Regions from separate parts of the Homo sapiens genome. Here regions 1, 2, 3, 5, 6 and 7 are each linked to region 4. The links are contacts of gene promoters, found by promoter capture Hi-C in blood cells and fetal thymus (Javierre and others, 2016). All regions are on one chromosome and are shown on one strand. The core of a region is centred on a gene start or on the middle of the fragment in contact, and the rest is flanking DNA. Distances in the headings are between cores, read along the strand shown. Region 1 has its middle 34 kb from the start of CCNG2. Region 2 overlaps SEPTIN11 (septin 11). Region 3 has its middle 4.4 kb from the start of CCNI. Region 4 holds the start of SCARB2 (scavenger receptor class B member 2). Region 5 has its middle 19 kb from the start of CCNG2. Region 6 overlaps LOC101928864 (a long non-coding RNA gene). Region 7 overlaps CCNI (cyclin I).

Evidence for each region. The method cuts DNA at HindIII sites, captures the fragments that hold promoters and counts their contacts. A CHiCAGO score of 5 or more calls a contact.
Region 1: a contact is called between a fragment that was not itself captured here and the fragment with the promoter of SCARB2 in region 4, in 1 of 17 cell types (M0 macrophages). The highest score is 5.9, in M0 macrophages.
Region 2: a contact is called between a fragment that was not itself captured here and the fragment with the promoter of SCARB2 in region 4, in 2 of 17 cell types (M1 macrophages and M2 macrophages). The highest score is 6.7, in M1 macrophages.
Region 3: a contact is called between a fragment that was not itself captured here and the fragment with the promoter of SCARB2 in region 4, in 3 of 17 cell types (naive CD4 T cells, non-activated CD4 T cells and naive CD8 T cells). The highest score is 6.5, in naive CD4 T cells.
Region 5: a contact is called between a fragment that was not itself captured here and the fragment with the promoter of SCARB2 in region 4, in 1 of 17 cell types (neutrophils). The highest score is 5.9, in neutrophils.
Region 6: a contact is called between a fragment that was not itself captured here and the fragment with the promoter of SCARB2 in region 4, in 2 of 17 cell types (naive CD8 T cells and monocytes). The highest score is 6.0, in naive CD8 T cells.
Region 7: a fragment that was not itself captured here is called in contact with the fragment with the promoter of SCARB2 in region 4 in 1 of 17 cell types (monocytes); the score reaches 6.1 in monocytes.

The regions. Positions count from the first base shown.
Region 1 is chr4:77,122,212-77,125,172 of GRCh38, reverse strand. No RefSeq gene overlaps it. Among named protein-coding and RNA genes, the nearest start is that of CCNG2, 34 kb to the left of the region's middle. The HindIII fragment of the contact is 927 bases long and covers 805-1,731 here.
Region 2 is chr4:77,006,793-77,009,896 of GRCh38, reverse strand. All of the region lies in intron 3 of SEPTIN11 (septin 11), which reads right to left. Among named protein-coding and RNA genes, the nearest start is that of SEPTIN11, 59 kb to the right of the region's middle. The HindIII fragment of the contact is 941 bases long and covers 981-1,921 here.
Region 3 is chr4:77,078,684-77,082,105 of GRCh38, reverse strand. No RefSeq gene overlaps it. Among named protein-coding and RNA genes, the nearest start is that of CCNI, 4.4 kb to the right of the region's middle. The HindIII fragment of the contact is 2,424 bases long and covers 874-3,297 here.
Region 4 is chr4:76,212,518-76,215,807 of GRCh38, reverse strand. SCARB2 (scavenger receptor class B member 2) reads left to right here and starts at 1,984. Exons shown (of 12, transcript NM_005506.4): 1 at 1,984-2,381. The coding sequence starts at 2,265. It also overlaps a transcript of FAM47E not described here. RefSeq lists silencers at 1,646-2,265, 2,179-2,583. The HindIII fragment of the contact is 5,631 bases long and covers 1-3,290 here.
Region 5 is chr4:77,174,714-77,177,892 of GRCh38, reverse strand. No RefSeq gene overlaps it. Among named protein-coding and RNA genes, the nearest start is that of CCNG2, 19 kb to the right of the region's middle. RefSeq lists enhancers at 2,139-2,785, 2,786-3,179. The HindIII fragment of the contact is 7,211 bases long and covers 1-3,179 here.
Region 6 is chr4:77,152,754-77,155,979 of GRCh38, reverse strand. LOC101928864 (a long non-coding RNA gene) reads left to right here. Exons shown (of 2, transcript XR_244659.5): 1 at 1-710; 2 at 1,004-1,226. Among named protein-coding and RNA genes, the nearest start is that of CCNG2, 2.8 kb to the left of the region's middle. RefSeq lists a silencer at 1,557-1,626. The HindIII fragment of the contact is 750 bases long and covers 1,063-1,812 here.
Region 7 is chr4:77,059,668-77,062,790 of GRCh38, reverse strand. The region is part of intron 2 of CCNI (cyclin I); the gene reads left to right. Among named protein-coding and RNA genes, the nearest start is that of CCNI, 15 kb to the left of the region's middle. The HindIII fragment of the contact is 3,762 bases long and covers 1-3,123 here.

The DNA.
Region 1 (2,961 bases), core at 19-2,518, 910 kb before region 4:
GAAACCCTGTTTTTACTAAAAATATAAAAAATTAGCCGGGCGTGGTGGCAGGCGCCTGTAATCCCAGCTACTCGGGAGGCTGAGGCAGGAGAATTGCTTGAACCTGGGAGGCGGAGGTTGCAGTGAGTGGAGATCGCGCCATTGCACTATAGCCTGGGCAACAGTGCGAGACTCCATCTCAAAAACAAACAAACAAACGAAAGATAAATCTTCCCTATTTCCAAAAATTCCCTACATTGTTGTTTATTCTCTCAGGGACTAGCTAGAAATCAGATTCCCCTCTTCAGATATTGAGGCTCAAAAGATAACATTTATTGGCAAGGATGTGGAGAAAAGGGAACCCTTGAACACTGTTGGCAGGAATGCGAATTAGTACAGCTATTCTAGACTATGGAGGTTCCTCAAGAAACTGAAAATGTGACTACCATATGATTGAGCAGTTCTACTTCTGGGTATACATGCAAAAGAAATTAAATCACTATCTTGAAGAGATACCAGCAATCTCATGTTCACTGAAGCATTATTCATAACAGCCAAGACACAGAGTCAACCTAAGTGTCCATCGACAGATAAATGAATATATATACTTATATATGAATGCAAATGAATACATGTTGGAATACACACAAGTGGAATATTTCCCAGCCTTAGAAGAGAAGGGAGTCCTGCCATTTGCAGCAACATGAATGAACCTAGAGGACATTCTGCTGAGTGAAACAAGCCAGTCATAAAAAGATAAATGTCATATGATATCACTGTTAACTCAAAAGTATCTAAGGCCTGTCTCAATCAATTTAGGAAGCTTATTTTGCCAAGGTTAAGGACACACCTGTGACACAGCCTCAGGAAGTCCTGGGGACATGAGCCCAAGGTGGTTTGGGTACAGTTTACTTTTATACATTTTAGGGAGACATGAAACATCAATCAATATGTGTAAGATGTATACTCGTTCAGTCCAGAAAGGTAGGACAACTTGAAGTGGGGAGGGGTTCTAAGTTATAGGTAGACAGGAAACAAACAGTTGCATTCTTCTGGGATTTTGATGAGCCTTTCAGTGAATACACAACTTACATGTGAGAGGGGGTAGAGGAATTGTCATTTAAGCCTTAGTCTGGCTCAGTGAATCTGGATTTTTACATAAACAATGGGACAGAGGAGGCAAATCAGACAGGCATTTATCTCAGGTGAGCAGAGGGATGCCTTTGAGTTCTGTCCTTTTTCTTGCTCCTGTGAAGATAAGCCGTCAATTTACATTGCCAAGGTGAAATTCAACAGAACTGTTTTAGGGTAAAGACCTGGTGGCCCACAGGTAATCTCCTTCTGGGGAAATTGTGAGGGAAGTATTTAGCTTTTTATCTTTGTAGCTATCTTACTTAGTAATAAAATGGGAGGCAGGTTTGCCTGATGCAGTTCCCAGCTTGACTTTTCCCTCTGGCTTAGTGATAAGTCCCAGATCTATTTTCCTTTCACATCACTTACATGTGGAAGCTAAAAAGTTGCATTTATTGAAATAGAGAGTAGACGAGTGCTCACCAAGGGCCCAAAGGTTGGGGAAACAGGGAAGTGTTGGTTAAAGGGTACAAAGTTTCAGTTCTGCAGGATGAATAAGTTCTGGAGACCTAATGTACAGCATGATGACTATAGTTAACAGTAATACATTATATACTTGAAATTTGCTGAGAATCAATCTTGTGTCCTCACCCCTAAAATAAAAAGGTAATTATGTAAGCTTATGGATATGTCAATTACTTTGTGGTAATTATTTCAAAACATGTATGCATATCAAATCATTACATGCCTTAAATATCTGTACTTTTTTTTGTCAGTTTTACCTCTGTAAAGCTTGGGGGGATAAAAGAAATTGATGCTCATTGGCGAGAACTCCTCCACCATCCTCATTACCTTTCTGGACTGAACCAATATACATCTTACACATATTGATTGACGTTTCATGTCTCCCTAAAATGTATAATAGTAAACCGTACCCAAACCACCTTGGGCTTATATCCCCAGGACCTCCTCATTACACAGCGGCAAGGTCAGATGGGGAGTTCCACTACCCCACTGTAAATGCCCAATGGATTACCCTGCCCGCTGCCTAGACAGAACCAATTTATCAAGACAGGAGAATTGCAATGGTAAAAGAGTAATTCACGCAGAGCCAGCTGTTTTTATTATTACTCAAATCAGTCTCCCTGCGCATTTGGGGATCAGAGTTTCTAAAGATAATTTGGCAGGCAGGGGCTTGGGAAGTGGGGAATGCTGATTACTCAGGTAGGAGATGGAATCATAGTGGGTCAAAGTTAGATTTTCTTAATGTCTTTTGTTCCTGGATATGACGGCAGAGCTGGTTGGGCCAGATTACTGGTCTGGGTGGTGTCAGCTGATCCATCAAGTGCAGGGTCTGCAAAACATCTCAAGCACTGATCTTAGGTTTTAAAATAGTGATATTATCCCCGGGAGCAATTTGGGGAGGTTCAGACTCTTGGAGCCAGAGGCTGCATGACCCCTAAATTGTAATTTCTAACCTTGTAGTTAATTTGTTATTCCTGCAAAGGCAGACTGGATCCCAGGCAAGAAGAGGATCTTTTCCGCAAAGGGCTGTTATCAATTTTGTTCTGGAGTCAAACCATGAACTGAATTCCTTCCCAAAGTTAGTTCAGCCTACACCCACCCAGAAATGAATAAGGACAGCTTAAGGGTTAGAAGCAAGATAGAGTTGGTTAGGTCTGATTTCTTTCACTGTCATAATTTCCTCAGTTATAATTTTGCAAAGGCAGTTTCACCATCTATCATACCACTGCAGGTCAGATGGTAAATAGGTTTGGGGAAAGGAAAGTTGGTTCCTGCTGGCTTCTTCCTTCTCTAGCGTGGGAATCTTACCAACTGAAAGACTTAGATCCCTTCCGTATGTCATCCTCACTCTCCAAACCCTCTCCTTTCTTAGCCTCTAACTTGTCT
Region 2 (3,104 bases), core at 202-2,701, 790 kb before region 4:
TGCCCTTTGCCCTTTGAGTCTGGGGCTGATCCTTCTGTCTCCTGACACTGAGGCAGATTTGGGGATTAGGGCTCTTCCCCAGCAGCCTCTTATCCCAAAGGGTAAGAGAAGCAGCTCACAGCAATTGCTCCCCTGCCTCCCCTGTGTCTGATTTTTAGCTTTTAGCACCTCCTCCTCTCAATAGTAGTCCAAATATGGTTCTGTTTTCTATTAGTTTCCCTTCTTGCCTCTGGTTTTGATTCTGATCCTCCAAAGATAATGAGAAGCATAACAACACTCATTTTGCAGTGAGGAATGCTTTCCCCACTGGATTCAAGATATCTTTTGTTCTCTAATATCTCAGGCTTCCTTCTACCTGTTCTTATTAGAGAGTCCTGGCCAATCATTCAGTCTCCCTTCTTTTCACTCTATGTATTCCCTCTAGAAAATCATACTCATTCCTGTGTTCCACTCACCATCTATCTGATGACAAGTCATAAATCTCTACCTCCAACCCAGATCTTTCCTCTGAGCTTCAGACCCATCCACAATTGGTTATCCTATATTTTCAACTGCTTCTCCAACTAAATATGTCCAAAACTGAACTATTCATCCTGCCTTCAAACCCTCACTTTCCCTGTATTCCTTAGCATGGTGGGCCACCACCCACACCACTGGCCAAGTCAGAAACCTGGGATTCAACCTGGAGCCTCCTTCTCTTATGTCATACACATAATAAATATGAAATCCCATCTACTTTACCTTCCATACCATTATTAACCAATAAAAAGAAATGTATTCCTGGACAACAATTTACCAAAACCACTATTCCCTATGTCAAAGATTTAATTATGCTGATGAAATAATTTCTTCTTGATGAGACTCAAGCCAGCCAAGTGGTTTTGTACTCCTCATCATCATCCTGTAGATGAGATGAATTATCTGCCTCTTCCTCCAAATCCTTTCCACTTCTCCATCTAAAGTGAGAAAGATAGGAAGCTTAATCCCAACTTAGCCTTTTGCTAGCCCCATTCCTACTAACACTTATTTATATTTTTTTTGCCAATTAAAACTTCCCTGAATTGTGGCCATATCAATCAGAGGAAAGACAGGAGGACAAATCCAATCTAGCCCTTACGTTTTCACATCATTTTCTTTTAAGGCATGGAGATATTCCTTGTTACACAGCACTCATTTTTTTTTCCATATACCTCCAGCCATAAAACATACACACACACAAAAATGACAGAGGCTAACCCTAAAACCGATGGAAAAAGATACTTAGACAATGTGATCCATCCATCCAACCTACCCACTGATCATTCTTGCAAAATGGCCAATGCCATCATTCAGGGACTGACTTTCCACTTCATATACGACCAAATACTTACCATGTTTTTCCCTTATCTTGCTGTCTGTTAGCCAATTTTCCTTATCCCTTGACTACCTCCACCAGAAAGTGTGATTAAAAACTTAAAATTTAAAGGCCAAACAGTCCATCTCACTACTGTTTTATAACTCTGATAAAGATTTGGTGAGGTTGAAATTCCGTCTCAGGGGATTTCAATTATCTCTGCCTTTGAGGGCTAACTATCATTACAGCTAGTGATACGCCATGGACAGCTCACCTCCCATCTCCCCAGTGTGGGGCAAACTAATTATTCTATTTCCAATTGAACAACAAAACTTGCTTTCCCTTCTTCCCCAGGCCCCTTTCTTTCTCCACTGAAGAGTACAAACAGCCAAAACAAGGAAGCCCTTAAATAACAAAGAGTGAAATGTGCTTTTAAACATAACAGGAAACCTTACCAGATCTCTCTTCCTGCCTCCTTCTAGCTAGCCTGGTCTGAGGCAGATAATAATACAGGAATGTTGACATGTCCAAAGCCTACATAAACAAACTGGGACATTCTTGAAGTCTTGCATCTATGGCAGAAAAGCTTGCCTAATCCCCAAAGTAGGTAAAAATCAACATGGGCATAGAGAAATACCACATCCCTTTCCATATGGTTATATATTGATGCAGAAATGAATATCCCACTTCCAGTTTCTTGAGGGAGGCAGAGCCTGTCCAGATAACAATTTGTGAACAAGTAATTTGGCTTTACAGTCAACAGTGTCAACAATACCTTCTGAGGCACAGGGTAACAGAGAGTTTTAAGTGCCATTTAAAGAGGTTATGCAATAGCTGTCAAGAAATTTCAGAGGAAAAAAAATATTTGGTATCTAGGTTAAGTTAATATCACACTTCCTCTCTTCTAAATCTCCTTGGAAACTATTATTTGACCCAAATGAGTCAGATAATTTCTTAAGGAGGGCTCCAGCTGCAAATATGAGGATATGCATTGTGCTAACTGTTTGCTGCTGAGTGCTGATTGGGGAGTGAAAAGCCACCAGCAGCCCGAGGGAAAGTCCCAGTTTAGGGGAGAGGCAAAAATTGAGTGGCAGCACTGTGGCAACCCCAGTGAGCTGGAAGAGCACAGGGAATCTCAGCAAGAGGCTATGTGGAGGATGGTTCTCATTCCTTGGGGGAGGGATCCTGAAAAAGTACAGTTGCTGTCTTCCAATCAAGGAATGGACAAGCAAGATTTTTCCTAACGCCAGTGAGAAAATCTATACCAGTCTGAGAGATGGAGAACAGGCCTTGCTCTGGGTATATTCTGTGAGTATGCAATGATTGAAACCCCCGGCTCTCTTCCCAGCTCCCACAATGCACTTGTGCCCCTTTCCTTATGACCAGGCCTTTCTCTTCATTTACTGCTCTTGGCATTACAAACAGCCTTCAGGCAGGGGCCTCTCCATCATTCCCTGTCATTGAGGTCATATATTAAGAGCAACTGCTCAGCTGCAGTGTCAGAGCTGAACTTGTTCCCTGCCCCAGCACAATGTACAGATAGTCCATTTTGGTATGCAAAATAAAATCTTTCTCACTCTATCTACCAATTGTTCCTGTTATCACGGGACAATGTCTACTGAAGAGCATTTAAAGTGCTTTGTAGATAAAATAAAGAGCTTGGTGCTCAGCTAAAGAATGAATTAAACATTTATCTGTCATTACTGTGGTGCTCATACTTATATCAGGCATAGATAAAATATATCTAGGCATTTCTAGATAAAAATAGTCG
Region 3 (3,422 bases), core at 836-3,335, 870 kb before region 4:
CATGGTGGCACATGCCTGTAATCCCAGCTACTCGGGAGGCTGAGGCAAGAGAATCGCTTGAACCCGGGAGGCAGAGGTTGTGGTGAGCTGAGATCACGCCATTGCACTCCAGCCTGGGCAACAAGAGTGAAACTCTGTCTCAAAAAAAAAAAAAAAAAAGAAAACAAAAGACAGTAGCTTAGGTTCATGGCAAGCACCTCTCATCACAGTCCAGTTCCAAGGAAAAATTTCAGCGTTTTCTACATTGGCTGTCGCCTCATCTGAAATCAGCATATTCCATGGAAGAAGGAGTCCTGCTTTTGTTGCATCTTCTATCCTAAGGTTTAATGTTGGTAAATGAGTAACTCTAGCATTTGTACAAGGTTCCCTAAGACTCCTGCAGCAGTCGACCAAGCCCAGGGACACAATTGAATCTGGAGATTCCTGGGGCCTTGTTTTGAAAAAGACTTGAAATACACATAGGAAGAAAGGCACAAAAATAAATGTTCACTTGTCTCTTAAAAAAAAAAAAAAAGGCAGCTTGAGGCTTCCTTGACTTATTCCCTCTGAGCACTTTCCCCACTTAATATTAAGGAGGAGGTCTTTATATTATTTGGTGAATGGGGACTTTTTTTTCTCTTAATATCTTGATGCCAAGTTGGTTTGGGACATTTACTCCTCTTACATTCTATCTCTGTATAGATAAATGAAAAATATTTTAGAAGTTGTTAAAAGAATCCTAAAGTGTGGGCAGATGCTAAGTGATTATGACAGTAAATAATTTCCTTTGTTCTTGTAGGCTTTAACATCTCTCCTACAAGATAGTACCTTCATAAATTGTCTTGTGGAAACATTATCTAAAAATTTCATTTAGGACAAAGGAGAATAGAAGCTTCTGTCATTAAACATGAAACAGCCTTGCTTTCTTTACTCCTAAAAATGTAGGCAGTATTTCTAGAAATATTTAATGATAGCGAACCACTTCCTGGCCATCAATTTGATTCCCTTCCATTTTCCTAGACTTCTGAAGAGGTCTCACTTTACACTATTTTGCATTACAGAACAGTCTTTATACTTCCTTTTTTTTTTTTTTGACACAGGATGTCACTCTGTCGCCAATGCTGGAGTGCAGTGGCGCTATCTCAGCTCATTGCAACCTCCGCCTCCCAGGTTCAAACGATTCTCCTGACTCAGCCTCCAGAGTAGCTGAGACTACAGGCACACACCACCATGCCCGGCTAACTTTTTGTATTTTTAGTAGAGATGGGGTTTCGCCATGTTGGCCAGGCTGGTCTCAAACTTCTGGCCTCAAGTGATCCACTCACCTCAGCCTCCCAAAGTGCTGGGCTTACAGGCATGAGGCATCACACCCGCTCACTGTCTTTATTCTGATAGCTGTTTCTCATGTGCTTCCTTATGCTGCTCCTCTTTGATTTGAAGCAAGGTATAGTTTAATTTCAAGATTTAATATTCTAGTCATGAAATAAAACAAGTCTGAAATCCTTTTCCAGTAAAAATCTACTCTTTAGACACACAAATAACTGCATATTAGATTTTTAAAAATATTTAAGATTAAACACAAGCCAAAAATCACCACAAGGTGACTATTTTTGTCCTAAAATTTACTGCAAGCCAGAAACTTCTAAGGGAGAGGCAGTAAAGAGTAGTGATTAAAAACATACCATGCTTTGGAGATAGTCAACCTGGGTTTGAATCCTGGCTGTGCCCCTCTAAGCTATGTGATGAATATTGGGATTTACTTTACCTCTTTATCTTTTGTAAAATAGGAACAACAAAAATACCTACTATAGAGGAGTGCTGTGGGGATAAACACAAAAGAATGCAATAAAAATGCTTAGTATAATGTTTGCTACATAGTGAGTGATCAACATGTGTTAGTTATTATTATTCTCTCTCTCCTTTTTTTTTCAGATACAGGGTCTTTCTGTGTTGCCCAGGCTGGTGCAAACTCCTGGGCTTAATGATCCTCCCAGCTTGGCCTCCCAAAGCAATTACAGGCATGAACTACCACACCTAGAAATGCCGTGTAGAATGGTAGTCTAACTTTACTATTTAGAATTACTAAATAGAAGTTATTTACCAATACGCGGATAATATGTTCTCTTTATATATCTTATTTATTTTCTCAGGGAATTTCATAAACTTTCGATTTTTTACAACTACAATTAATTGTAAAAACAATTATTAGTTATTAAAAAAAATATGGCCTGGCGCAGTGGCTCAAGCCTGTAATCCCAGCACTTTGGAAGGCCGAGGCAGGTGGACTACCTGAGGTTAGGAGTTCGAGACCAGCCTAGCCAACATGGTGAAACTGTCTCTACTAAAAATACAAAAATTACCCAGGCACGGTGGCACACCTGTAATCTCAGCTACTCGGGAGGCTGAGGCAGAAGAATTGCTTAAACCCGGGATATGGAGGTTGCAGTGAACTGAGATTGCACCATTGCACTCCAGCCTGGGTGACAAGAGAGAGACTCTGTTTCAAAAAAAAAAAAAAGTGAATTAAAGTATGGTCTTACAAATGGATACTGAAGAACAAGAATGTCCATATTGGCTGTGCACAGTGGCTCATGCATGTCATCCCAGCACTTTGGGAGGCTGACGTAGCTGGATTGCTTGAGCTCTGGCATTCGAGATCAGCCTGGGCAACATGACAAAACCCCGTCTGTACAAAAAATACAAAAGTTAGCTGGGCATGGTGGTGCACACCTGTATTCCCAGCTAGTTAGAAGTCTGAGGTGGAAGGATCGCTTGAGCCTAGGAAGTTGAGGCTGCAGTGAGCTGAGATCGCACCACTGCAACCTGGGTGACAGGGTGAGACCTTGTCTCAAAGGAAAAAAAAAAAAGAAAGAAAATATCCATACTTTTTGTTCAGACAACTGCAACTAGTTACTTACCCACCTATTAATTACTTGTAATTATATTTATAGTAGATTAAATTGTCACTGGCAATCTCATAGGCAGTAAGATAGTTTTAATAAGGATAAGTATATAATTAAATGGGAGCTCTTAAAGACTCCTGGTAACATTTTAATTGGTTTAATCTTCTGCCTTGCAACTGGCAACTGGTATTCAGTAAAAGCCATAAAAACATAATATTGTTGGACCTAGGAATAGCCCCAAAGAGGTTATGAAGATGTTAATTGAATTATTTTTGTTTTTCATTTTTTGGGTAGCAGCTTTATTATAATTCAAACACCATAGAAGTAATACATTTAAAGTGTACAATTCAATGGTTTTTAGTACAGGTTGCATATCCCTGATACAAAAATCTGAAATGCTCCAAAATCCAAAGCTTTTTGAGTGCCAACATGACACTCAGAGGAAATGCTCATTTTGGATTTTCAGACTAGGTTGCTCAACCAGTAAGTATATAATTTAATGCAAACATTTCCAAAACTGAAAAAAAAGTTTAAAATTCA
Region 4 (3,290 bases), core at 735-3,234:
CAGCTGGGGACTGGTGGGACATTTCTCTTCCTACAGACTCAGGGCTTCTCCCCACAGTCTTTCCCATGTTCTCTGCAGCAGTCTCCGGGTAGCTGAACTTAGGGGTGACTTGAGGCTCCAAGAGCAAGAATTTGCAAAGGCCCCAGCAGAAGTTGCAAGGCATTTATGATCTAGCTTCAGAAGTTCCAGGATATGGTCATTTCCACTGTATTCTATTGGTTTAACAAATTGCTAAAACCTGCCCAAATTCAAAGCGAGAAAGTATAGACCCCACCTCTCAACGAAAGGAGTAACAAATAATTTGCCACCATTTTTAAACCATCATGCTATCTCACCAAGTCCTCAACAAAGCCTCCTAACTGATTTGCTGTCCTCAGATTCTCATTAGTGACAGATCGGGATGCAGCAATGCGCAGAGTAGAAAAAGTGAGGGTTTTGGAAGCCAACAGCCAGCCCTACATCCTGGTTCAAGCAGGATCCACCACTCAGCAACCAGTTGAGCTTGTTAGGTTACTTAACTCAGAGCCCCAGTGTTCTTGAGTGTAAAATGAGGATAATACACTATAGTTGCCAAGAAAATGTACTTCTTGGATCTTGCAGTGTAGATAGCATAACTGACCAATGGCTCCGCCTCAACTGCTGAGCTCTGCTGAAATCCATACCCTGATATTTATCCCTAGGTTGCTGCAAAGGCCAGCTTCCTAAGGCTGCTCCCAGCTCATGACTGAGCACAGCAGGGATACTAAGGCGGGCCTCTTTCTGGGAGATGCCAGACTTCTGGGACAAGCCCATTTGGCTAAAGGATTCCCCACCCCAATGGCCTTGCTGAACTTTTTATACATGGACTGTATATATATCAAATGCTTCCTTCCACCCAACCTTCCTTCCTTGCTTGCCTCTTTCCTTCACAAGGATCACACCTGCATCCCAGGTCCAGCTCCCTGTTTTCCCTCAAAACTCTCTTGCATAGTACCCCCATCTGGGACTGTTTCTGGAGGACTGGGACAAACACAACCTCCTATTCATAGGACTGCCAAGGGTATTAAATGAGTAGAACTGTGCAAAGAAACTAGTAAAGGGCTGGCGTAGAAGAAACACTCATTTAACGAACACTTCTTGAGTCCTGGCTGTGTGCAGGTCTTGGTCCTGGGTGTCTGGGACACCACAGTGAGCAAAGCAGGCAAGAACACCAGCGATGCCTGCTTTAAGCTCCTTCCCAACTTCCACATCTTTAACAGGATACCAAGAGCCCTTCAAAGTCTGACCTCTTGGGGCCTCAACACCTCCGACTCCACCCCCTGAACACCTGAGCCTACAGTCAAAAGGAACTTCCTTCTTGCTTCCTACAGGTTTTGCTCTTTCACCCCCAATGCCTTTGCTCACCGTTTCCTTCTCCGTGAAATGCCTCCTCCTCCCTTTTTTGCACATCTTCCATTCTTGCACATGCCCCTTACGTGACAAACTTATGCATCCCCCAGGCCCCAGTTCAATGTGGGGCCCTAGGTCATCCAGGCAGAACATGCTTGCTGGCATGATCTCAGCAGGCACCTGGTAGAAGCACTTGCTACATTGTGTTGTAATTGCGGTAACGGTGTCCCCGCTAACTTGCGAGCGCCTCTAGAGCAGGGGAATGTCCCAGCCACCTTGAATCCCCAGCGCGTGGCCCATGGGAGGCCCTCAGACCTATCTGCGGAATGAGTAAATGAGTGTGTGAACCAGGTTCGGCAATTTCGGTGGGGCGAGCGCTGGGCCTGCGGTGCAGGGCGCTGGGAGCGGCCAGGCCGGGCCTGGCTCAGGCGCCGCAGCCACTCAGGGCCACCGGGGACCGGCCGGGGAGGGCGCGGGCCGAATCACTGCCGCCGCCGCAGGGCACATGACTGCGGCCTCCGCCCCCGCCCGCCTCCCCGCGCAGTCGCCGGCGGTTGCCTCGCGGGGTTGCGGCGAGCCCGGCCCGCGAACGTCACGTCCCTGCGCGCTCCCTGCACTCTCCCGAGCTGCGCTAGGCGGGCGCCACGGCTGCCCGGCGAAGGAAACCGAAACCGAGTCCGGGCCCGTCCCTCCGCGGCCCCATCCGCCCGGTGCACCCGGGGCCGCGCTCGCCAGGCCGCGGAGCCCAGAGCTGCGCGCACGAACCGTGCGCCGGGAGGGCGTGGGCGTGGCGCCGAAGGGTCCCGGGTCTTCGACGCCTCTGCGGCGGCTCCTCCCTCCTTGCAGTTGGATCCCTGGCGGGTGCGGCCCGGCCCGGCCCGTGAGCGGCGCACAGAATGGGCCGATGCTGCTTCTACACGGCGGGGACGTTGTCCCTGCTCCTGCTGGTGACCAGCGTCACGCTGCTGGTGGCCCGGGTCTTCCAGAAGGCTGTAGACCAGAGTATCGAGAAGGTGAGGCGGGGCGGGCTGTGTGTGTGTTGTGGAGTCGTCCAGCTCACCCTCCCATCCCTGCTGCTACATCTTGTATGGGAAAGACCAGCACTCAGGCAGACCCTCCGCGCTAGAGCTCTTCTTGCGTCCCTGTCTTCCAGGGCTTGGTAGGCGAGGGTTAAAGAAGGATGAGGAAGGATGGAGCCGACTCTGTTCCCTTTACAGTGATAAGTAAGGCTATGGATCCTGACTTTTAAAAAGGCCTTCGGTTGTGTTCTGTCGTTTGCATCTCTCCCCACTCCTTCCGTCTACACCCCAATCTCAGGTGGGCCCAAACTTGTTTCCTTCCCACTTCATGAAGAAACAGAACTGAATGAAAGACACCGCAGAAGAGGCAGGTTATGTTGTCTGCTTGCTGTAGCCTTTGAAGTGGTGTGCGCCTGGGGATGAGACGTGGGTGTGCGGTCTATTGTGTTCTTGCCCTCTTGGGCTGGGCAGGGGCAGTTGGTAGCTGGGCCAGTCCTTTAGGCTGGGTGACAATTCATCCATCAGTCTTTGCTGAACGCTGACTTAGTGGCTTTGTATCTTGTACCAACAGTCTGTGTTGCTTTGTCTCACCATGAATTCTTGTTTTTCTCAAACGGCCATAATTTTCAGGCACAGATGCATTTAGATACCCTACAAGAATCTGAACTTGTCTCTTCCTCTAGATGATTGGGCTGGAGAGCCAGTCCTTTAAGAAGACTTCATCTTTTGATTTCACTGGTCATTTCATCTGCCCTTTCCCCCACATCCACCAAGCTGTGTCAAAAGAGGAACAAAAGAGAATTACTGGGATCATTTTTTCCTTAAAAAAGAAAAATAATCACTGGAGCAGCAGCCTTTCTTGTTAGCATCCATAACTGCACGCTTCATTTCTCCCACTGGTCT
Region 5 (3,179 bases), core at 403-2,902, 960 kb before region 4:
ACCTTGAATTCTGGTGACCCCACAAAGGTGTGGTTACCATGAGCTCTGCCTCATGTCCAGCCAGCCTCCCTCTTTAGCATTTTAGGTCCCTCTCTAATTTCTTCAAGTTGATAAAATGATGCATATCTATTGAGCATAATTGCAGGTCTTGAATATAGTAGGTTACTTGCCCTCTAAGAGCAGACAATCTCGTTGGCTTCAACAAACCAGGAGTATGGCTTTTAAAGATTTTAAGAATTGGATAACTAGGTCTGCTTCTCTCTGTGCCATCTTTTTCATGTTTTTCTAACAGCATCAAGAAAGGGAAGAAAAGCAGTGTTGAGAGCCTGCTGGGGCTGGCCCTGGGTGAGCAAATGCAGTTCTCTCTGTGTGCCTCAGACAAAGGAGAAGCGTCTCTTGTAGGCTCATTTCATTCTTGCTTGAGCAGCCCTGTGTGTGTTCTCAGAACTCAGGGTCCTGGAAACTGCATAAAGGAGTCAAATCATTCAACCCCAAACAGGGCTCTTGCCCTAAGTCCAGACAACAGCTGTGAAGCAGCTGCACCATTGTGCTCTAAAGCTGCTTAGTGTAAGATGCAAAGGAAAAAAGGATTAGCCCTTGGAAACTATGTGAAAAACACAACCCCCTGCGACAACAGCTGGCAGGTAACATATATCATGAAGACATTTGCGGTATTAGAATGGATACATAAAAGATGAGAATTCAAACAGTATTTTAAAGTTTTTTTCCCCATGAAAGTTAATGCGCTCCAATCTTTTCAATTTAAGAAAATTAATAAGAAAAAAATGGAAAGAGAAGAACTACGGCAGCTGGTACAACACAGACATGGAGGCGGGTAAAATATGAGTCTGCCACCTTCACCTTTTCCCCCTCTCCAATGCCCCACCCGAAAATAACATGAAATGTTTCCCTGGAGCAACCAAAGATGAATGTCTGCTCCCCAAGCCAGGCCCCAAGTTCAGGCGCAGCACCACTTCTTAGAGTTGGCAGCTTTACTAGACTTTGATCATTCCTTCGTGGGACACATCAACCTTGCTCCTCCTTAATGTGCAAGATGAGGCAAGAGCCGAGGCCAGGCAGGTATAGCTGCAGGCAGAGCTTTCTCCAGTGCTGTACAGAAAGGCTTTTGCCTGCCCAGGCCCAAGGGGAGCCGTTGCAGTTGCTTGCCTCCCACATCCTATGGAAAGGAGTCCCCATGTTCTGGTGGCTTAGGATGTGTGTTTCTCAGTGGTGGGCGAGCTGGAACCTGGGACCAAAAGGTAGTCAGGCACTGCCTACTTTCTGAGCCCAGCTTTTGGGGTCTGTGCTTTTTCCTCCCATCCTTTTTAGTGACACCTTCCTCTGAATTCTTTAGGAATCGAATTGACCCCATTTGCCTTTCTGACCCTCCTCCCCCTTCCCCATCAAAATTACCTGTCAAGGAAGTAAGGAAACTGTCACTGAAAGGCATTACTGATGGGAATATAAATCTATATCCCCTTTCAGGGATGCAGGTCAACACAGTATACATTTTAAATGTACATTCTCTTGGACCCAAGATTTTCACTTCTAGAAATGCATCCTAAAGAAATTATTACCCAGGTAGGCAGAAATGTATGTGCAAGAATGTTTACTGCTGCTTTGATTTAAAATACTGAACAATTGTCAATAATACAGCCATCCATCAGAAAGAGATCAGTTAAATAAATTATCACGTAAGCATCCAACAAAACCCTCTTCAATCTTTAAAAATAAGGAAGTAGGTTTATATCTACTGACACTGATGTATGCCCCTGATATATTGTTAAATGAGGAAAGTGGGTTATAGAAGCATACATAGAGTAGGATCGTGCTTATACATTTTTTTAAAGTTTACATGTTTATACTTGCATAAAAAGAATGAAATGATAAATGTCATTCTGTTGACAGTAGCATCTCTGAGGAACAGTATTAGAGGCATTATCCACTTTCTCTATATTGCTTACATTTTTACAAAGGAGATATAGTAACAGAAAAATACTTTGATGTAGTTTTTTAAAACCTTCTCTAAGAACAATATATGCAAAGCCTTCACACTGACAACAACTTATATTTGCAAAGAGCTTCACAACTTTATTTTCCCCATTAACTTATTCCGTCTTCACAGCCCTGTGAGGTTGGGAAGATAGATCTTAGTATTTATTGTCAAAGATAAACAACCGTCCGTTAACGTGGTGAAAACAGATTTTATTCAGTAACTACTGAGAGTAAGAGAAGGAGCAGAGCTCAATTCTGATTTGTGCTGAGGTGACTGGGCGTTTTAAAGGGGAAGATGCGGGAGGAGGGAGGAGGAGCCTGTGGGACTCTGGTGAAGCCTTACAAACGGTTGGTGGGCATCACCATAATTAGGCCAGCTGCACGTGCTAGCTGGCAATTAACACCAGTTAGGAGCCAGGGCCCTATCCTTCCTGATAATTACATTTCAAAGGAATGGCTTTCAGATTCTTGAGAGAGACACTCCTGACTTGCAGGAGATACACATACATCTCAAAGAGACAGAGAAAGAATTCACAATTGTAAGCCCTGTTTGGTAAATGCTCTAAGTAAGGAGGTCAGGGGTCTATCTTCAGGTGTTGGCTGGAACAAACAGCAAATTCTTTTCACAGCCCTGAGCTTTTCCAGACAGGAACTTAAAAGAAGGCTAGGTTGCCCCAGGGACACAACCTTAGTCTGCTAGAAGCCGTGTTAAAGTTTGGTCAAGTCTGTTCGTGCAGAAGTTTGAAAGAAGCGTTTGTGCTGAAGGTTTTTGGCATTCTGAGTACCCTTTTTTCAGCTTAAAAAACTAGTTCTCGGTCGGGCGCAGTGGCTCATGCCTGTAATGCCAGCACTTTGGGAGGCCGAGGCGGATGGATCACCTGAGGTCAGGAGTTCGAGACCAGCCTGGCCAACATGGTGAAACCCCGTCTCTACTAAAAATACAAAAATTAGCCAGGCATGGTGGTGGGCGCCTGTAGTCCCAGCTATTCAGGAGGCTGAGGCAGGAGAATCGCTTGAACCCAGGAGGCAGAGGTTGCAGTGAGCCGAGATTGTGCCATTGCACTCCAACCTGGGCAACAGAGCAAGACTCCATCTCAAAAAAAAAAAACAAAAATGAAAACAAAACAAAACAAAAAAAACAAGAAAACTAGTTCTCAGAGAATTTACATGATGTGGCAGCTGGG
Region 6 (3,226 bases), core at 188-2,687, 940 kb before region 4:
TGGTTGACTGCCCTGGAACATTTATTTGTTTACTCTCTCCCTCCTAAATTAGAAAATACCATATTCGTGAGTTCTAATCTACATAATCAGATAGTCCCTGGGAAGAGATTTCTCCTTTCTGTTCTTCTATGTGTTTTCTGTGAATTATTTTGTTACTTGTGAAATATGGGAAGGCACACAACATAGCTTTGGCAGCGCTCTTCTTTGCGGAGCAGCTAAGGAATTTTAAAACTAGGTCCCTTTGCATATTAGCTCGGACTAAACACAGGCATCTGTTTGGAGCACAGAGCAACTGGGGGAAGGCAGCCCAAAAAGCTAACACTTATTTCAGAGAGGTGTGAGCTTGGTGAGGGTTTTGGAAAATAAGATAAAATTAGCACACCAGTTTTAAATGATTTACAGGCTACATAATTTTATCCAATGCTTGTTTTATCTTTTAAACATTAAGTGATAACTTTTATTTGACATAATCATCTTGCTGGAAATCTATGCTGATAAACATAATAGGAGCATGAAACTAACTTAGAGACTAGAGCTAAGATTAAAATTACAGAGATGACAGCTCATTGTACAGAGCATCAATAGGCTGAGTGGACAGGGCCCACAGACAGAAAGCAGCTCGACCAACTATCCACCATCAGAGAAATGAAGAGTTTGTGATCAAAGCATGAAGGAGACTGGGGATGTTTTTTTCAAGTAAGAAGGCAAAGGTAAAAAAGGAACATACGTTATTTTATAAGTGATGTGAAAGAGGAAATGCAAATTTATGTGGTAGAAGACTTTAAAAATAACAGACTATATAAAACAAAAAGGAAAAGATTTAGAAATTGTCCTTTGCTTAGGCTACATAATTTTATCCAATGCTTATCTGATCTTTTAAACATAAATAAGTGATAACTTTTATTTGACATAATCATCTTGCTGCTTAGCACTAAATGATATGAAGCTATACTAAATGTGTACTCTATATTTCATAACTGGTATTTTATGTGTCCTTTTACAGACAGCCTCTTGAATGATGTGAACAGTGATGGCTTTCTCTGAGAGTAAGACAAGAAAGCTTTGTAAATGGCGTTGAATTTCCTGCTCTTGGCAGGCCCTGCTCAGCACAGAAGAAAAGACTGATCAAGTTGTCCAAGATGGAGCCCTTTATCCACGTTAGTCCACTTATCTCTTTAAGATTAAAGGAAAGCAATCATTAAAAATACAGATCCAGTAATTATTAATACAGCATCCTCTTTTTTAAACACCTCATTTTAAGAATGATGATATTCTTAGGAAATGGGCTGGGGGATTATGTAGGTTTTCTCTGTTTACTTTGCAGAATTTTTTGTTTGTTAATATATCTTTTAAAAAAAAATTCTCCTCATTCTATTTGTCCTTATCACATTGGCTTACCTTGCCGGAGCTGAAAGTGTTATTTATGAAAAAGACATTATTCCCCTTAGGCTAATCAGGCTTTACCCATTAGCCTTTCCTGAGCTTTCTGGAAGGCAAATTTCCTGTATCATGCACACATACAAAATAAGGAAATCAGAAACTTGGCAGCCCCCAAGAACTTCCAGACAATTTAAGATACTTGGTTTTCTACAGCATGTGGTAGGGGTGCAGTGGGGTTGGGTGATACTGTCACCAATAACCCCATGAAAGCCTGATGTGCAGCCCATTGTCCTCAGTGACATGTGAGACTGAAACTAAAAGGTGCTCACAGAATGGGTAATAAGCAGGGAGTGCCCACACAGAAACACTGACTACATTCAGTGAATCCCTGACTCCTGACAAGTGTGCTGCAAACCTGCTCACACTTAAGCTTCTACCTTGAAAATAGGGCACTCTCATGGGACAGTTGCAGTGCTTCCCTAAATGACTTAGACTTCCCTGAACTTCATAAGGCATCAAAATTGCTACAATTTTCCAAATATCATCTTTCTCCTCAAAGATATGGTTTTTGACAATAAATCCTAGCTTTTTATTCAATCGAAATTTAGTGAATACACACTGAGTGCCAGGCATGCTACTAGGCACCAGGAATACAAAAATACATAAATAAAACAAGGCCCCAGCATATACCCTGGTATGTCTGAGGTGTAGGGCAAAAGCACTGGCCATGGATCAAACTGGCTTTGTGTCTCAGCTTTCCTACTCATTAGAAATGGTGCCTTGAATACCCTGAATAATTCCCATGGTCTTGAGCCTCAGCTTTCTAAACTGAGGAAAACAAAAAGCCAGAGGTAGTTGTGTCTGCTTCATATGTGATGACTGAATACAAACATTTGTGAAAGCAACTAGCTATATATTTCTAGGCTGCACCATGTTGTGACTTCATGAAGGGAAAGGAAGGGATCATCCCTAACCTCATCAAAGAAGTCTGGTGGAAAGCAGCCCTGAAAGGAAAGAACCTGAGGATAAGGATACGTAAAGCTGACATGAGGCCATACTCCCCCTCCCCGTCTACTCACTATTGCTGGGTCCCTGCCTGGGCTGTTTTCTGTCATTAGGCTGAGCACAGTGGTTCATACCTGGAATCCCGGCACTTTGGGAGGCTGAGGTGGGAGGATCACTTGAGCCCAGGAGTTCAAGACCAGCCTGGGCAACATAGCGAGACTTCATCTCTACAAAAAATTTTAAAAATTATCTGGGCGTGGTGGCATGCACCCGTAGTCCCAGCTACATGTGAGCCTGAGACAAGAAGATTGCTTGAGCCTGGGAGGTCTATGCTACAGTGAGCCATGATCATGTCACTGCACTCTGGCCTGGGCAACAGAGCAAAACCCTGTCTCAAAAAAAAAAAAAAAAGTGGTTTGCAGCCCCAAACTTCCTGCTTAGATAAGTCTTGCTTCACAGAACCTGCAATGGAGACAGGAATGCCTCTCTGAGGAAGAGAAACAGGGAAGGTATAGCATAGTAGCATAGGGTGCTATCTTGAAGTAATGCAGATTTTTCAACCAAGAGCTCATTTTTAAATCAGAACCTGGAAGAATGAGATGATTTATATAGCAGATGATTAATCTCTGTCTTCAAGCAATCAGCAGAATAAGTCAGTGAAACATCTCATATATTCTCCTTTCTGATTTTCCCACAAACAAGACCATCTCAAATTTGAAATCAACATTTTACAATCCATTTACTATATATTTTGTTGCTTTTGTTGTTAATGCTAGAAGCATGCCCTGTTTTTTTGGAAGAGTGTTTATGCAAGGGTTGGCCATATTCATAAACATTCATA
Region 7 (3,123 bases), core at 162-2,661, 850 kb before region 4:
TACTTTCAGATGTTCTCAATTTATTTTGCCAAAGTGCTTTTGATTTACAAAGATAAAACCCTGCCACAAATTGTTGATATACAGATGATTTTCAGTAGAATTTTAGAACTCTAAGGAATCTTAAAAAGAGGTTGTTAACAGCTTTTCTAGTCATTCTCAACTGGAGTTTAGATTTGCTGCTTCCTACTTCATCAAAGCCAAAAGGAAAAATTTAATTTTTTTTTTTTTTCTGAGACAGGGTCTTGCTCTGTTGCCCAGGCTGGGGTGCAGTGGCTCCATCACAGTTCACTACAGCCTCTATTTCCCAGGCTCAAGTGATCCTCCCACCTCAGCCTCCCAAGTAGCTGAGGTAACAGGCACGCACCACCATGCCTAATTTTTTTATTTGTGGAGATGAAGTCTCACTGTGTTACCCAGGCTAGTTTCAAACTCCTGGGCTCAAGCAGTTTTCCTGCCTTGGCCCCCTACAGTACTGGGATTACAATTGTGAGCCATGCCCAGAAATTTAATTTTTAAAAAAATGTTGAACGTTTAACAGGTGTAATGAGATGCTGTGGGAACATAGGAAGGTACTCAGCCCAACTTGAATTATCAGGAAAAGTATCTGGCGGGGAGTAACATCAAAATAGCTCTCAAGAGATACATAATAAGGCAGGTGAGAGAGAAGGGAGTGCGTTCCAGTCAGTAGGAGCAATATGAACAAAGGAGCAGTAACGTAAAATACCAGGGGCAAGGAAGGATCATCAGTAGAAGTTACTATTACAGCATGAAGTTTAAGACAGAAAGTGATGGAAGATGTCCGAGGTTAGAGAGGTAGGTCATAGCCGGGCATGGTGGCTTGCACCTGTAATCTCAACACTTTGGGAGGCCGAGGCGGGTGGATCACAAGGTCAGGAGATCGAGACTATCCTGGCTAACATGGTGAAACCCCGTCTCTACTAAAAATACAAAAAATTAGCTGGGTGTGGTGGCGGGTGCCTGTAGTCCCAGCTACCCAGGAGGCTGAGGCAGGAGAATGGTGTGAACCTGGGAGGCGGAGCTTGCAGTTAGCCAAGATTGCGCCACTGCACTCCAGCCTGGGTGACAGAGCAAGACTGTCTCAAAAACAAAAAACAAAAACAACAACAACAAAGAAGAGGTAGGTCATAGATTTGTATGCCATGCTGGGGAATTGTACTTAATCTTTTAGGTAATGGTGAACCTTTTAGAGTTTAAAGCTGGGGAGGTTGTATATTTTAAGGAGAAGACTAGCAGCATGTGGAATATAATATATATACAGAATATATATTAATAGCAGTCTATATTTTACCATGTTTGATCAATCCATTATAAATTCTCTTTAGGATTATTTGTTCAACTACTGAATCCTTCTAATCCTATTTAAGCAGTCCATATGAGAAACAGTTCACCTGATGGAATCAGGAAATACTGTTTTGGGCTTTTTCTTTTTCTCTCTCATTCTTTATTTTAGAGGAATAGGAATGAAATGAATTAGGCGCAGAACTTACTATTTGTAATGCTGTCATGATGATATTACTGTTTAGTACATATTTGAATTGATTTGAAAAAGTGACCTTAGACTCAGTATTACTTCAGTTAAATTGAGTCTTCTTAAACTGTTATCTTTTGGATTTTAAAAAAATTATTGCTGGTTTTGGCTAGTGATGATAACATTGGCTATGCAGGAATGCTTTTCTTGGCCCTGTTGTTAAATTTTACTATCTGGTATATGGGCCAAACATAGTGGCTTACACCTGTAATCCCAACACTTTGGGAGGCCGAGGTGGGAGGATTACTTGAGCCTGGGAGTTGAAGACCAGCCTGGGTAACATAGTGAGACCTCGTCTCTACAAAAAAGTAAAATTAGGCCGGGCGCAGTGGCTCACGTCTGTAATCCCAGCACTTTGGGAGGCTGAGATGGGTAGATCACTTGAGGTCAGGGATTTGAGACCAGCCTGGCCAACATGGCGAAACCCCATCTCTACTAAAAATACAAAAATTAGCCAGGCGTGATGGCACAAGCCTGTAATCCCAGCTACTTGGGAGGCTGAGGCAGGGAGAATTGCTTGAACCTAGGAGGCGGAGGCTGCAGTGAACTGAGATTGAACCACTGCACTCCAGCCTGGGTGACAGAGCGAGACTCCATCTCAAAAAAAAAAAAAAAATTAGCCGGGCCTGGTGGCACGTACCTCTGGTCCTAGCTACTTCAGGATGCTGAGGTGGGAGGATCACTTGGGGCTGGGAGGTCGAGGCTGCAGTGTGCCATGGTTGTGCCACTGTACTCCAGCCTGGGTGACAGAGCAAGACCCTGTCTCAAAAAGTATATGGAATATTAAAGTTCAAAGATATTGTCATGATTTCTTTCATGACTAATTGTTAACAGTGTTTAAAATAACTTCATAGATAATGTTTTGTAAATTTGTTTTTCTGACATTATTAGAGAATTGGGTAGTTTAGAGGTGGGAAAGGAGAACTAATATTTGAGTACGTTTGCATTCCATATATATGCTTTACATTAGTTATGTCATTTAGTTATAACTATATGATAATCTCCATATAACTGTATTCTCTTTTTTTGTATGTTACCTTTGTGATTCTTCTTACAATTGTATGTTTCTGTTATTGTTTAATGCCAAACACCAAATAGTGACATTATTTAATGTAATCTGTCATTCAGGGATTTTTTTTTTTCTCCCATACCCCACATTGTATCTCTAACTGAAGGTTAGAGTTAATGGTGTTCTTGTTTTCATAGCTACTGTAAGTCATCGTTCCTTTCATCTCCCTAAAAGCCTTCCCAGTTTCATCAGATTATAACATCACCTACCTCTCCTGGGAATTTATTTCCTTGTTGATGTGTTTGGCTGGCTTAGTTAACATTACTTTTCCTTATTTGTTGTGGCATTTTGGATAAAAGCTCATCTTGATAGGAATTTAATTTCTCTTGAATGCTTAACTCTTCATCCAGAAGTCTTGTGATTGGCTTTACTTGGTTCTCAGGGATTTTTATGGATCCTTAGTCCAGAACTAGATCTTAAAGTAGCCTGGATACAGAATTACAGCTAGATATGAGGAATAACTTCTAGTGTTCCATACCATTGTAGGCTTACTATGGTTAACTTA